2 separate regions of the Homo sapiens genome follow, and region 1 is linked to region 2. Evidence: promoter capture Hi-C in 16 types of primary human blood cells and fetal thymus (Javierre and others, 2016). All regions are on one chromosome and are shown on one strand. Each heading gives the region's core, a stretch centred on a gene start or on the middle of the fragment in contact. The rest is flanking DNA. Distances are from core to core; before and after follow the strand shown.

Region 1 (6,756 bases), core at 3,016-5,515, 470 kb after region 2:
ATCCATTTCCCCATTTTCCCTCTCCATCCACAAGCATATACTCAATATTCAGTCTTTTTTTTTTTTTTTTTTTGAGACAGGGTCTCACTCTGTCGCCCAGGCTGGAGTACAGTGGCATGATCAGAGTTCACTGCAGCCTCCATCTTCCAGGTTTGGGTGATCCTCCCATCTCAGCCTCCTGAGTATCTGAGACTACAGGTGTGCACCACCACATCCTGCTGATTTTTTTTTTAACTTTTAGGAGAGATGAGGTCTTGCTATGTTGCCCAGGCTGGTCTCAAACTCCTAAACTCAAGCAATCCCCTTGCCTTGGCCTCCCAAAGTGCTGAGATTACAAGTGTGAGCCACTGCGTCTATTCAGTCTTCATTGCCTGCATGCCTGTGCGCATGCAGTTCCCTCTGTCCTTTCTTACCTTCTCTGATGGAAAACACAATCACCTGTCAGGACAGTTCAGCTTTTCAGTAAAACAGCTTCCAACAACTTTAGGGAAATTGTCACTTCCTCTTCTGTGCTTTTATAAGTCTTTGTTCATACCCCTATTATAATACCTATCACATTATATTATAATTATGTGTTAAATTTCAAGGCATTGATTATGTCTCAATTATCCAGTGATTAATACAGCCCCTGGCAGATAGTATTCAACGCATTTTTTTGAGTGAACAAATGAGTGACCACTGTCTGAACTATTTGCTTTATTTTTCTGTAAAACTAGTTTAATAATGTGGTTGCCTTGGTATGACAATTTATTCTATAAATAAGTGTAAGAGAAAGAAGAACAAGAAAGTGATAATTGCATCACTCCTAGAAGGCTGTCAATTACATTAAACTTACCCAAAGCGGGAAAAATCTCCAAATCAGAATATTAAGCATGGCTTTATAATAACAATGCAAAAAATGTGTTTATAAAACCATTTGTGTATGCAGAAGATTGAAACTGGACCTGTTCCTTACACTATATACAAAAATTAACTCAAGATGGATTAAAGATCCGAAACTATAAAAACCCTGGAAGACAACATTGGCAATACTGTTATAGACATAGGAATGAGCAAAGATTTCATGAAGAAGATGCCAAAAGCAATGGCAATGAAAGCAAAAATTAACAAATGAGATATAATTAAACTAAAGAGCTTCTGCACAGCAAAAGAAACTATCAACAGAGTAAAGAGACAACCTACAGAATGGGAGAAAATTTTTGCAAACTATGCATCTGACAAAGGCCTAATATCCAACATCTATAAATTAAACAAATTTACAAGAAACAAACAACCCCATTAAAAAGTGGGTAAAGGACATGAACAGACATTTTTCAAAATAAGACATACATGTGGCCAACAAGCGTATGGAAAAAAGCTCAACATCACTGATCATCAGAGAAATGCAAATCAAAACCATAACGAGCCACCATCTCACACCAGTCAGAATGGCTGTTATCAAAAAGCCAAAAAATAACAGGTATGGGTGAGGTTGTGGAGAAAAAGGAACATTTATACACTGTTAGTGGGAGTGTAAATTAGTTCAACAATTGTGGAAAACAGTGTGGCGATCCCTCAAAGACTAAAAGCAAAACTACAATTTGATCCAGCAATCCCATTACTGGGTATATACTCAAAGGAATATAAATCATTCTATAATAAAGACATATGCATGCGTATGTTCATTATAGCACTATTCACAATAGCAAAGACATGCAATCAACCTAAATGCCCAACAGTGGTAGACTGGATAAAGAATACGTGGTGCCTACATACCATGGAATACTAGGCAGCCATAAAAAAGAACAAGATGGAGCTAGAGGCCACTATCCTTAGCAAACTAACATAGGAACAGAAAACCAAATATCTCATGGTCTCACTTATAATTGGGAGCTAAAAGATGAGAACACATGGACACAAAGAAGGGAACCACACACACTGGGGCTTACTGAAGGATGGAGAGTGGAAGGAGGCGGAGGATCAGGAAAAATAACTAATGGGCACTAGGCTTAATACCTGGGTCATGATATAATTAGTACAATAAACCTCCACGACATGAGTTTACCTATATAACAGGCCTGTACATGTACCCCTGAACTTAAAAGTTAAAAAATAAAAATCCATTAGTGGCTGGGTGTGGTGGCTCATGCCTGTAATCCCAGCACTTTGGGAGCGAGAGGTGGGAGGACTGCTTGAGCCAAGGACAGCCTGGGCAATTTAGCTACACTCTGCCTCCACAAAAATTTAAAAATTAGCTGGTTGTGGTGCTGTGTGCCTATAGCCCCCACTACTCAGAAGGCTGAGGTGGAAGGACTGCTTGAGCCCCGAAAGTTGAGGCTGCCATGTCCATACCACTGCACCACTCCAGTCTGAGTGACAGAGTGAGATCCTATCTCAAAGAAAAAAGAAAAACCATCTGTATTTCCAATTCTTCTTCTCAACAGAGTATAGCAGAAAAATGACACACAAACATCACATGTAGAGTTTGCATCAGAAGAGGTCTTTAAAAAGATCAAGACAACAGATTTTTACAGTTAAAAGAGACCTCTTGGTTATCTAGTTCAACTTTCTTCTATGTATGAATCTCTATAGTATGCCTGATAAATGCTCATCTACCTTCTACTTGAATATTCTCAGTGATGGAGAAATCACTATTTGAGAAGGTACTTGATTCCTTATTTTGACAATTATAATGTCCAAGTTAAACCCAATGAACCCAGCCCTTCCTTCTTAAACCACAGAGAATACTCCTTCTTCCTTATGGTAACCCTATAAATAATTAAACACAGCTATAAAGTCATCCCGTCTTTTTTTCCTCAGACTTTTCTAGTTTCATTCAACTACTTCTCATGTTATAGTTTTCAACATTTTCACCAAACTGATTGATATCCTCAGTGTATGTTCCCATTTGTTTCTACTGCTTCTAAAATGGAGCCTGGAGCAACACTCTAAGTGAGGTTAACCCAGAGTGGAGAATCTCCTAGGACAGGACTAGTATATATCTCTCATTATAAACTCCATACGGTTACTATTCAAATTTGTACTGGCTCTTACCTAAGGTAGAGTCAAACCTTGACAATGGCTAGTAGGAAAAAGGATGACATGAAGCCAGGATGGGACCAGAGCTGAGAGAACTGATCCCACTCTGGCACCGGATCTTTGGTGGGAAGGCAAAGCTGTCTAAAGGAGTCCTAGATATATCAAAGACATTCAGGGTGTTTTGACAGGTGGACCAGGAAAATATTGCTGGAGGAATATTTGAAGTCAGACATGTGGCAGCATCATGCCTCCAATAGGTTTTGGAGCAGGCTCTCATCATCCCTTAGGGAACATGAGAATAAAGACCTAACCCCTAGGGGAAAATGTTGCAAAGAGCTTTTGCTGTGTTTTCAGATGACTTTGCAAATTAAAGTCAAGAAGACTGGAGTTCAAAGAAGGGCTGTATTTCTAGGCAGAAACTGAGGTAGTAAGAATCTGGTGTCATAAAGACCTTTGTTGAATTCCATCTTTTCTGCTTTCCAAGCCTAAGTTTCCTCATGTAAAAATGGGGATAAGCACTTAACTTTAGTACTTTAAGTACTAACTTTAAAGGACTGCTGTGAAGATCTAGTGGGATAATATATGTAGTTAGGCATGCAGTTAGTGCTTATCAAATGTTATTATTATAGATTAAGATGCACAAATAAAATATAAGTTAAATAAATTTTAAAATAATTTCACTTTTGAAGCTTTTAAAGTAATTATGTACTAAGAGCATTTTCTCAAATTATTCTTAACACTTCCTTTAAGAAAAGGGCTATATCTGTTTTTTGAAAGATGACCAGAAGTGACATGGATTGGTTGAAAATGGCTTGTAAAGTAAGCCTAACATTTATGATTTATTACCATAAAAACTGTACCAACAGTACGGTTATAACAAATACACTTATTTTTGGGTTTTATTTTCAAGTAAGATAATGACTTTATCATAAACCTTTGAAATCAGTCTTTTTACAGTATAAATTCAGATTCATTAATCCACATAGAATTTTTCTCGATGGTATAATTCTGTATTTGTTAAAAGTCTTTGCATAAGCCCCTTGTCAAGCCAAATGCTGTTTTCCTTTTAGTATCCAATTATCTGAAACTTAAGAAGAGTGTGCACCGCCCAATGGGTGTGTGTATGTGCTGCTTTGAACCTATAGTTGAGATCCAGAGAATTGGGAGTGACATCATCTGTAACAATAAAAGAGCCTCTCTTGGTAAGCAGAAGACCTATATATAAAAGTCACCATTTAAGGGGTCTGCAGTCCAATTCATCAGTTGTCTTTAGTTTACTCAGCATCAGCTACTAACATACCTGAACGAAGATCTTGTTCTAAGACATTGTATGGTAAGTAAACTTAAAAATTCACTTCTGAATCTCATGAGATTTTGATAATCAAGTTATTATTTAATGTGTACCATTTCTACAAATACCATGTTGTTTCTTCAAGGTAAAATGCTAAGAAGTTTGAGTTATGTTTAATATAAAATGCCACATACAAAATAAATTAATGCTACTCAAATCACAAAATCCTTTTTGATTAAAGTCTTCTGAGATACCTTGCCTTTTAAAACCTCATCTGAAATTACAACAAAAAATCATTAAAATTTGGCATGCTATGCTTTAATATAATAGTATCGGTGTCAAAATTTTGAAATAAAACAGGTTGATGGTGAATGAATAGTTCTGATTTAAATAATCTTTATAAATTTATTAAGTGGAGTTAATATTCTGTTTTTCCTGCAGAGTATTCTTATCTAGATTATTTATTTTATGGCTCATAAAGAGCCCAATCTGTATACTAAAGTTGGATAAGCCCAGTTTGACTAGTAAATATTTATTTCCTTTACATAAATGACAGCTGTATTCTGAAAACAGTATTTCCTATGCTATTTCTAAATGATGCAGTTTCCCTGTAAAATAGGAGTACATAACTACTCTATGTGTATGTTAAAAGGTAGTACACTGAGCATTAAGGAAAAGCACTTCTATAATAACAGCCTTTGCAAGTACTGAAATGCAGATTAAGGCAAGAATATCCTATACTGATGTGAAACGAGGAAAGAGACAAAAGTTATATTAAAAGATAATTGTTAATAAAATAAGTTGAAGAAATAAGCTACAAACAAGCATTCCATTCAGAGATAAAGCTCGAAATCCATATCACAAGTAATTAATCAGATGATTTTTAAATGCTTTGACACATTATTTTTAATGCTAGGAGAAATGTGAATTAATTTAGTGAAAATCTCTAGATTAGCACCTATTAGTTTGGTATTTATGGTTATTACAATGCCTGAAATGAAGGTTACTTAAGAAAAGGATTTGCTACGTAAATAGTGTTAACAATTTACACTATGAAGAAAATTAGGCATTTTCAAGCAAGTTATAAACATTTAGGTATAATCAACATAAAATGCAGTGCGGGGGGATTTCTCAAAAATAGGCTCTTTCATTCCTCTTGTAGCTTAAGATTTCTGCAGTGTGACAGAAGGGAGCATGAGAAGCATGGCTCACCAGCCAGCCTCTATTGTCTATGTAATTAGAAGCTTCAGAACTCACTAATACCACTGTACCTTTCACTGGCGCATTACCCCATAAAACTTGAGATGAGGTGAGATCTGAGTATAAAGATAGGTCAGAAGTATTTTAAAGGGCTTAATTTGCCAAAAAGAAAAGTAAAAAGCTAGAGACCCTTTTTGCAGAACATTTGGTGACCACACATTTGAGGGAAGATGTGGCATTAGATGAAGCAGAAGCAAACCCTGCTCTTAGGGGCTCATCTAGGTGAGTGCACAGCCTGTGACACTACAGGGAGAGGCTCAGTAAACTGAGATCCAGCATTCTGTATGACAGAGGCATTGCTTATCACAGAGGTTCTGAATTTTAAGTAGGAAGTACATAATGAAGAGGGCTTTAAAAATTGCTAAGAAAGCGAGTCACCAGGGCTGGCAGTAGTGTAACAGGGCCATCCTGAGCTGTTAGGAGAGTAGATGCAGGGAGGGCTGGTGACCTCCGTGGGTTTATCTGTTGGAGACTCTTCTCTCCAAATCCCAGGCCTGGCTTCCAGCACCATCCAGCTGTGCCCAAGAAGCCACGCTGGTCTGTTCTCCAAGTCTTTTAAATGGTGCCTAATTTTTCTAAGTGAGCTTAGCAATGAGAAGAAAAAAAAAACATGAATTATTTTTCTGGAAAATCAAGGAGACATGGGTAACAACAGGCACTAATAAATATTTATAGATGAGTGAATGAGGAAATAATTACATAAAAAAGGTCAGTGACAATTGATAAATGACAAGGAAATATTTAATTAGGTAAAAGTAAACCATTGCTCTCTATACTAGGATAGACTTTATCTACTTCGTCTTTTCCTAAGTCAGCATGTTAATTCTGGGGGAGGATCATAAGAAAGGAAATACTTTTTTAAAAAAAATTTAAAAACATGTAACAAAGCAAGGGTAAAATATATGTATATACATAAGTGGTATGACTGTAAAACTGTACTTTCCATTAGTTATTAGCTGAGTTAAGAGAATGATCACGTTGAAGTACTGTGTGGACTAGAAATGTACTCTGTCATCATGCAATGAAATGTTGCTAACATTTTAACATAGCTCATTTATGCAGAATGAATTCTGGCAGTTTACCCCAAGTCACAGTTAGGACGGTAGATGGTGAGATCGCAGATGCGTGATTATCTAGATTCAGTGTTACATTTTTGATGTTTATCACTCAGTGGATTTTTATTAATA
Region 2 (6,989 bases), core at 3,335-5,834:
GATTTGTTGTTCTGTTTTCCTTGAAGGAAGGCTCACCATCCAGAAGGCTGAGGGTAGCTGAGTGAATTTCATTCTATTCCCAACTAATTTCATTGAGTCAGCACATAAGACTGGTTAAGAGCACAGATTTAGGAGTCAGACAGACCTGAGACTGTATCCTGATTCTGCTGATTATTAGCTGTGTGACCATGGATAAGGAATAAACTTCTCTGAGGTTTAGTCTTCTCATCCATAAAACAGTAACGATCAGAAACTTCCTCAAAGTACTGTAAGGAATAAGTGAGATGAGTCGGAAGAACTTAACACAATATCTTATCCAGGGCTTTGCTGCTAAGTATTTTTCTATTTCCAAAATAATCATCTCATAACATATTTTTTTAGCAACCACTGTGTGACAATTTCTTTTGACATGAATTATTTCTAATTCTCACAGGAATGCTGGGAAAAAATCAAAACACCCTCATTTTACAGATGGAGAAATTGGCTCAGAGAGGTGAAGTGGCTTCCTGAGATCACACAGTGAATATGTGACCAAGGAGGACCTGAAACCAACCCACCCAACATCAAAGCCTGTGCGCTTTCCACCAGGCTGAGGTGTCCACCCCTGTGGTCAGTGTGTGTCTCAGTGTGGGACAAAGGAAAAACCATGCAGCTTTGGAGGTCTCCAAACCTCCCAGTTTAGGATAAACCCCTCAATTATGCTTGAAGTTGGACCAGCTTTTGAAACCTCTACTGGACATTCTTTTCCCATCAAGTTCCTTGAAATGTCTCTTTAAAATACATCTAGGAAAAGCCACTCTCATTAGCCAGAGTCTGACTTTATTTTCCTAATAAACAGACCTCCAGTAAGACAAAAGAGCCTCTTTTATTTTCAATCAATTCTTGAATATTTCAGTGGATTTTCTTCTGTTTGGCTTGAAATTGTGATCTGGGAAAGGCTGGTCCTGCGAATTGTCCTCCTGTATAAGGGAAGCCCCTTGAGGATCCTCAACTTGTTATTTTTAATCACTGTAATCTCCTTTTCAAAGGAGGCCCTGGCCAGAAACAGAGCAGGCCTTTCAGAGCTTTCTAAAGCACAATTATTGCCGTTGGAGGGAGGGGGGACTGTGGGAAGAGGGAGGGAGAGTAGAGAGAAGTGGTGGGAAAGAAAAGGAAATCAATATAATACTAACAACTTGGAAAAGACAAAATAATGATCTCAACTGGATTCAGGTTTTGGGGAAGAAACTCCATGTTTCAGTCTTTTTTAATAGTGACCATTTTATTCCGGTCTAGAGTACCTAAAGACTGTACTTAGACAGCAGGCACAAAGAACAGAAGCTGCTTGGGGATGAACTGGAATACTGTGGACAAAGATTTGAGGCAGGAAAACAAGTCATTGATTCCAAGGATTGTGAGGAATCCTAATTCATGAAAAAATTAAAAAGCAAATAGAACACCAGGGGAATGCCAGCTTCACAGCCTTAAGTCAGGACAATGAGCAGAATGTGTTTGAGTTACTTTTAACATAATTATTCTAAGAAAGAAGGAGCCAACAGAAAATGTCACAAACTAGGCCAGTACCTTTTCTTTCGGACTTTGAGTGGCAGAATCAGGTTTGCTAATTGCAGGATATTTACTTGGAAAACCTCAGCATGGTTCCTGCAAGATCTCTTCCAAGGTCTTTTAGCCATAAGAAGGGAGAAAAGATGATTGCCCAATCTATAGCCTGAGTTGGGGTGTCAAAGTCCAGATGGCTGTTTAGGCAGGAGTAGCCTGTAGGGTGAAAGTCCAGGACACTCCCTATCCAGTCCCAGTTCCCCACCTGCTGGCCCTGGACGTTTAGGTAGTTCTGAAACCTCTTTGGCCCCGTGAATACCAGCTGTATCTCCTTCCCAGTGCTAGGGCCACCAGCTGCCAATGCTCAACTAAAACACGGAGGATTAGTGTGAAAAGAGACGCTGGGTACACTTGGCCTGAACCTCAGACTAGTCTAAGTCACTGAAAAAATCTTCCTGGGCTTGCATTAGCAACAGTCTTAGGCAAGGCTCCTGATATGAAAAAATACCTCATTCATTCATTCAATTAATTCATGAGGACCCAAATAACCACTGGTAGATGAATGGGACTGGAGGAGAGCTGAGGAAACCTGCTTTCAAACGCACAACACTCTTCAAAAACAAAAATCTGATCAAGAACCTACCTCCATTAGTAAACCAATAAAGGCCTCACATTCAACTGTTAGGCTTATTAGGAATCTCTTTTAGCTCAGGCACACTCACCTTTGTAAACTCATTTACTCCCTACCACCAAGAGAGGGTGGATAAACAGCTTTTTTTTTTTTCCAGCTAGGAAATAGGTGCAGAGAAATTAAATGACTTGCACAAGGTCACACAGCGAGTAAACCCAAGTCTGTTGGACTCCAGAGCCACTTCTTTCTCTGCTACGTGGAGCGGGGACAGTTTCCCCTGTGAACTCAGGTCCTCAGTTTTGGGGAGGGCCGAATAGGCCACTGAAGTCATACCCGCTTCCCTGCGGTCCACAGGGAGGATCGGCCGCCTCCCGGCTGCACCGAGTGGCAGTCGCCGCCCGTCGGCGCGGCTCGCTCTAGCCGCGGTGCCAAGCCGCGCGCTCCCTCCCGGGCTGGGCGGGGTGTTCTCCGCCCAGAATCTTTCTTCGTGGAGTACCCAGGATCCCGCGGAGCTGCGCGCCGGGGTCAGACTGTTCCTCGCAAAGTGCTCAGCACGCCAAGGTGCCAAGGGCACCAAGGAGCCGGCTTTGGGTAGCTCCGGGTGGAGAAAGTCGGGGACACAAACCCGGGAAAGGGGGAAAAGCGCTCCAAGAAGGGTGGCCCCTGGCTTTGGTCTCCGGCGTGACCCTGGCGCCCGCTGACGCTGCCCCAGACTTTCTCCTGTGTTGCTCCCACCGCTTCCGTCCAAGGCTCTCTGGGGAACTGGGAAGGCGAGGAGGAAAGTACAGCAGCTGGGAGCCCATTTGCCCCACCAGGTGCCCCAGTGACCCGCTCATCCCTGCTTAGCACCAGAGCTGACTTATGAAGGGGCGAGGGTGAGAGGACACGCTCCCTGGCGGGAGCTAAGGTGAGGCCAGACAGGCTCGCTTCCCTTCCTGGTTACCTGTCCCCCACCCGGAGAGCGGCTGCTGCTGCACGGGGAAACGATGTCTGGGGAGATGACCCTGCTGAGGAGCGAGGTGGCGGGCGTGGGGACAGAGTCAGGCGTCTTCAGATCGGTGCTGGTCGAACTGCCTGTCCCGCCTAGGAGGCTCTCACCTGCTTGGACACCTCCTCCCTGAGCTCCCGAAACCCCACTCTCAGCCGAGCGGCGTAGGCGCGACATCCCTGGGACGTGGAGACTCCGAGCTGCCGGAGCCAAGGTTCCCCGGCCTCCAGGGAGCAGGCCTCGGGCATCGGGGCTTCTCTTTCCATCTTCATCCAATTCCCCTTGCAGCTCGGAGCTTACCCCAAGCTCTTTGAGGACCCTGTCCCCACTGGGAACCTGTTCTGGAAACCCAAGATACTCTATCTCGTCTGGGACCACGAGAGAATAATTTGGGGTTCTTTCCAAGGACCCTTTCGAGGAGCTTTAGGCTGTCCCTGCCCCTCCTTCCCGCACCCCGGGACCGGTTAGGGAGAAGCCAAAGTCCCTTCTCCTGAAGGGACCTATCCAGGGAAGCCGGAGTGGCTGTCCCGCCCAGGGCCAGTCTTTGAGAATCGGGTACCCTCTCCTTCAGGGACTGAGCGGGGAAAGCTGGAGTGGCTGCCTTGCCCGGGACCCGACCAAGAGAAGCCTGGGTCCCCTCCAGACCGATTTGGAGAAAGGCAGTTTTACTTCCCTCCTGCAGACGGCCGGGGGAGAAGCGAGCCTCCCTTGCAGTCAGGCCGGCGTGACGTGTGGCTCAGTTACATCCTCCGCCTGGGAACCGCGCGTCGGAAACGCGGGGTGCCTCTCCTGGCTGCGGCCCCCGCGACGGCCCGGGACGCTGGATTATGATCCGCGCCGAGCTCGCGACTGCAAGGGCCGAGGGCAGCCAGGACAGAAGGGCCCTTGCCGGGCTGCACCCGCGCCACGCGCCCGGAGACCGCGCGCCCTCCTCCGGCACCGCGAGGTCGGCGCCCTCCGGGGACCGGGTCCCGCTCTCCTAATGCCACGCCGGGCGGCCACTTACCGCGGTAGCTGGTTCCCGGCTTGTAGAAGTCGGGGTCGCCCTCCACGCGGAGGCTGAACTCGGTGTAGCCCTCGCGCCGCGTGCCCTGGGCGCGCAGGATACGGCTGCAGTAGCCCTCTGACTTGGGCACTTTGTCCAGGGTCTCGTCGGAGAAGGCCAGCGCCGCGGCCAGGGGCAGCGCCAGGGCCAGCAGTGCCGGAGTCCGGCTCAGCTTCAGGGGCGCCGGGGACAGCCTCATCTTCGCGGCCCCCAACTTTGTGCCGCGGCCGCAGGCCTTCGCCACGCGACTCCTGCCCGAAGTGGTCCCGACGAAGGCGCGACCTGGCGGAGGCGCGGCGGAGAGAGGGAGCTCGGAGCTGGCGTCCGCGACTCGGAGACCGTGCCCGCCTCGGCTTGGCGGCCGCGGAGCTGCGCTGAGCTGAGCTGAGCTGAGCCAAGCGAACGAGAGCAGCGCGAGGAGGGGAGGGCCGCGGCGAAGGAGCGGGAGGAGGGAGGGCTGATTTTGCCCAGATCCCCCAGCGCAGCGCTGTTTTGTTTCCTCCGAACTGGCGATTAGCGGCGCGGCCGTGTTTATTTTGCGACGTTGGATTCCCAGGGTCTGACGAAGAAACCGTGGCATACCGGACCCTGTGGGCTCTGTCCCATCGCCTAGGAGGCTGCTGCTCCAACCCCCAGCTACACTCCGGACCCTCTGGAGGACGGCGCTCAGAGGAGGGAAAGCCTGAGAAATAACTTTTGTTGCACACCTGCTCTGTGCCTAGCAATATGCTTGGCGGCTTACTTACTGTATCGACTCGCCTTCATGTTCCCTACTCCCAATAAAGATTACATTACTTTCGCTCACTTTATAGATGAGCAAACTGTGACTTGCGACCAGTTACAGCAGGGTTAGATGCGGCGACTCCGGGCCCATTGCTCTTCCCAAGGCCATAGTGGAACATGTCAGACTGGAGGCTGAGAAAGGAGAAACGACTTAGCTACAGCGCTTAGGGCCCACGATACTTTTGGAGATCTATGAAAATGTTTTCTGTAAAAATCAGAAGAAAAAATTTATGTCAAACAAAATGTTTTACTATATAATGTTAATATATTTGTATTTATACCTCCACAGTCATAAAATATGCTTGACTTGGAGGAAAGAGCCAGCAAAGGCAAAAGTGCCTAAGGCTCAGGAAGGTCCTCCTACAGCCCAGGAAAGGAGTTTCCAAAGATTCAATGAAGAGCCTGTGTTTTCTTGGCTTACATTTTAGTTCAGATTCTCACTCCCCAGGGACAGATGTTCAGAGAGGTGCTGAGCCTGAGGGCCTGAAGGGAAAAGACCTGGGGCAAGAATCTCTCCCAGTGTCTCTCTGGGAAGAGACCCGAATCAAACCTCAGTCCTGCCACTCACCCATTGTGAAGCTTGGGCTAGTTATCGCACTCTCCAAGCTTGTTTCCTGCTCTGGAGAACAAGGAAGTGGGGGTGGGTGCCAGTACATCCTTCTTAGAGGTAGTGGGGTGATATGCTAGAAGTAAATGATATGACCCATATAAAACACTCTAGTTGGTCTCTAGTGGCGCCTGCTCCCTCACCCGCTTGGGGATACCATAAGCCCCCTGCCTCTCAGTGCACACAAACATCCCTCCCCAGGTGCCCTCAGAAGCTTTGGTTTCCTCGTCTTCTCTTTGCCCAGGGCCTTCGACACACCTCAAGTGCCTACAATTAGCAAGCAATCTCCTTTGCTTTCCAGGTCAGGGTTTTCTCTTTCATAATGCTACAAACAGGCCCAGGGCGCTAGGTGCATGGGAGATCTCCATTCCTCCCTGCCTGCCCACTTACTCCTTAGTGCTTGTGCTGGAATTCCCACTGCCACTATTAACTGGACGCCTTCTCTCAGAGGTCACCTGAAAGTAACCCCTTGCTGAAGCCAATTATGCTCTTCTCTCATCCCTAGCCCTTCTTGACCCTAGCAGCACCTGATCCAGCTGATCGGCCCTCCTTTTTGAGGTGAGGCTCAGATCCATGTCTGAGTGCTGAGGGAATTGTCTGCATCTTCACTCGACTGGCTCAGAGCTCATGCTGCACTCCAAGTTGCACGGTCCCATTCATCCAGCAAACTTTCATTAAGTGTAGATTTGGAGCTAGACTCTGTGCTGACCGGTAGGTAGAAGACGGAACAAAAATTCATCCATCCATCCATCCATGCATCCTTCTATCCATCCATTCATTCATGACAAAGACCCTCCACGTGCTCAGTGCTTGGATACAAAACACAGATATGTTACTTGCCTTTGAGGATTTTACAGGCCTGTGGCAAAGGCAAATATTAAATACATAATTATATGAATCTTTTAAAATTATAATTGTGATGTATGCTACAAACTAAAATAAGTGGTTCTTGAAAGTGTACCTGATCTTATCTCAGAGGGCAGGAAACTACAGAAATGAATAAATTGTGACCCCTGTCTTCACAAAGCTTATTTTATGTCTGAAAGCTCAAATCTGTGCTCTTGAACCTCTATTCATCTACAAAAGGTTCAAATCTAAGTTGGAGATGGGTGGGCATGAAGTAGGCAGGAATGCAATATTTAACTTTTTATTGGATATTGACAGGAAAACTATGGGAAGTAGGCAGTCCCAATTCACCTCCGCACTCCCATTGTTCAGATTAGGAGCCTATGAAATTACCTGCTGAGGTAATGTTCCATGGCTATTAAGGGAAAGAGCCAGGATTTAAAACAGGCATCCCCAACACCAAATGAGGTACTTTCCAGTACACAGTGTTCGCCCTATCATCTGGGCTATGACGGCAGGCTCTAACCAGCTCACCAAGCTCCAATCCCAC

Evidence for each region. Contacts are between HindIII fragments. The CHiCAGO score rates a contact against its expected background, and 5 or more counts as called.
Region 1: a contact is called between the fragment with the promoter of PTH here and the fragment with the promoter of SPON1 in region 2, in 1 of 17 cell types (neutrophils). The highest score is 6.1, in neutrophils.

What each region holds. Positions count from the first base shown.
Region 1 is chr11:13,493,506-13,500,261 of GRCh38, reverse strand. PTH (parathyroid hormone) reads left to right here and starts at 4,265. Exons shown (of 3, transcript NM_000315.4): 1 at 4,265-4,351. RefSeq lists silencers at 1-110, 844-944, 1-945, an enhancer at 3,870-3,891 and promoters at 4,106-4,268, 3,261-4,320, 3,582-4,332. The HindIII fragment of the contact is 1,846 bases long and covers 3,710-5,555 here.
Region 2 is chr11:13,960,318-13,967,306 of GRCh38, reverse strand. SPON1 (spondin 1) reads right to left here and starts at 4,584. Exons shown (of 16, transcript NM_006108.4): 1 at 4,165-4,584. The coding sequence starts at 4,402. LOC124902637 (a long non-coding RNA gene) reads right to left here and starts at 4,150. Exons shown (of 2, transcript XR_007062602.1): 1 at 2,262-4,150; 2 at 1-266. RefSeq lists an enhancer at 781-1,299. The HindIII fragment of the contact is 7,695 bases long and covers 1-5,567 here.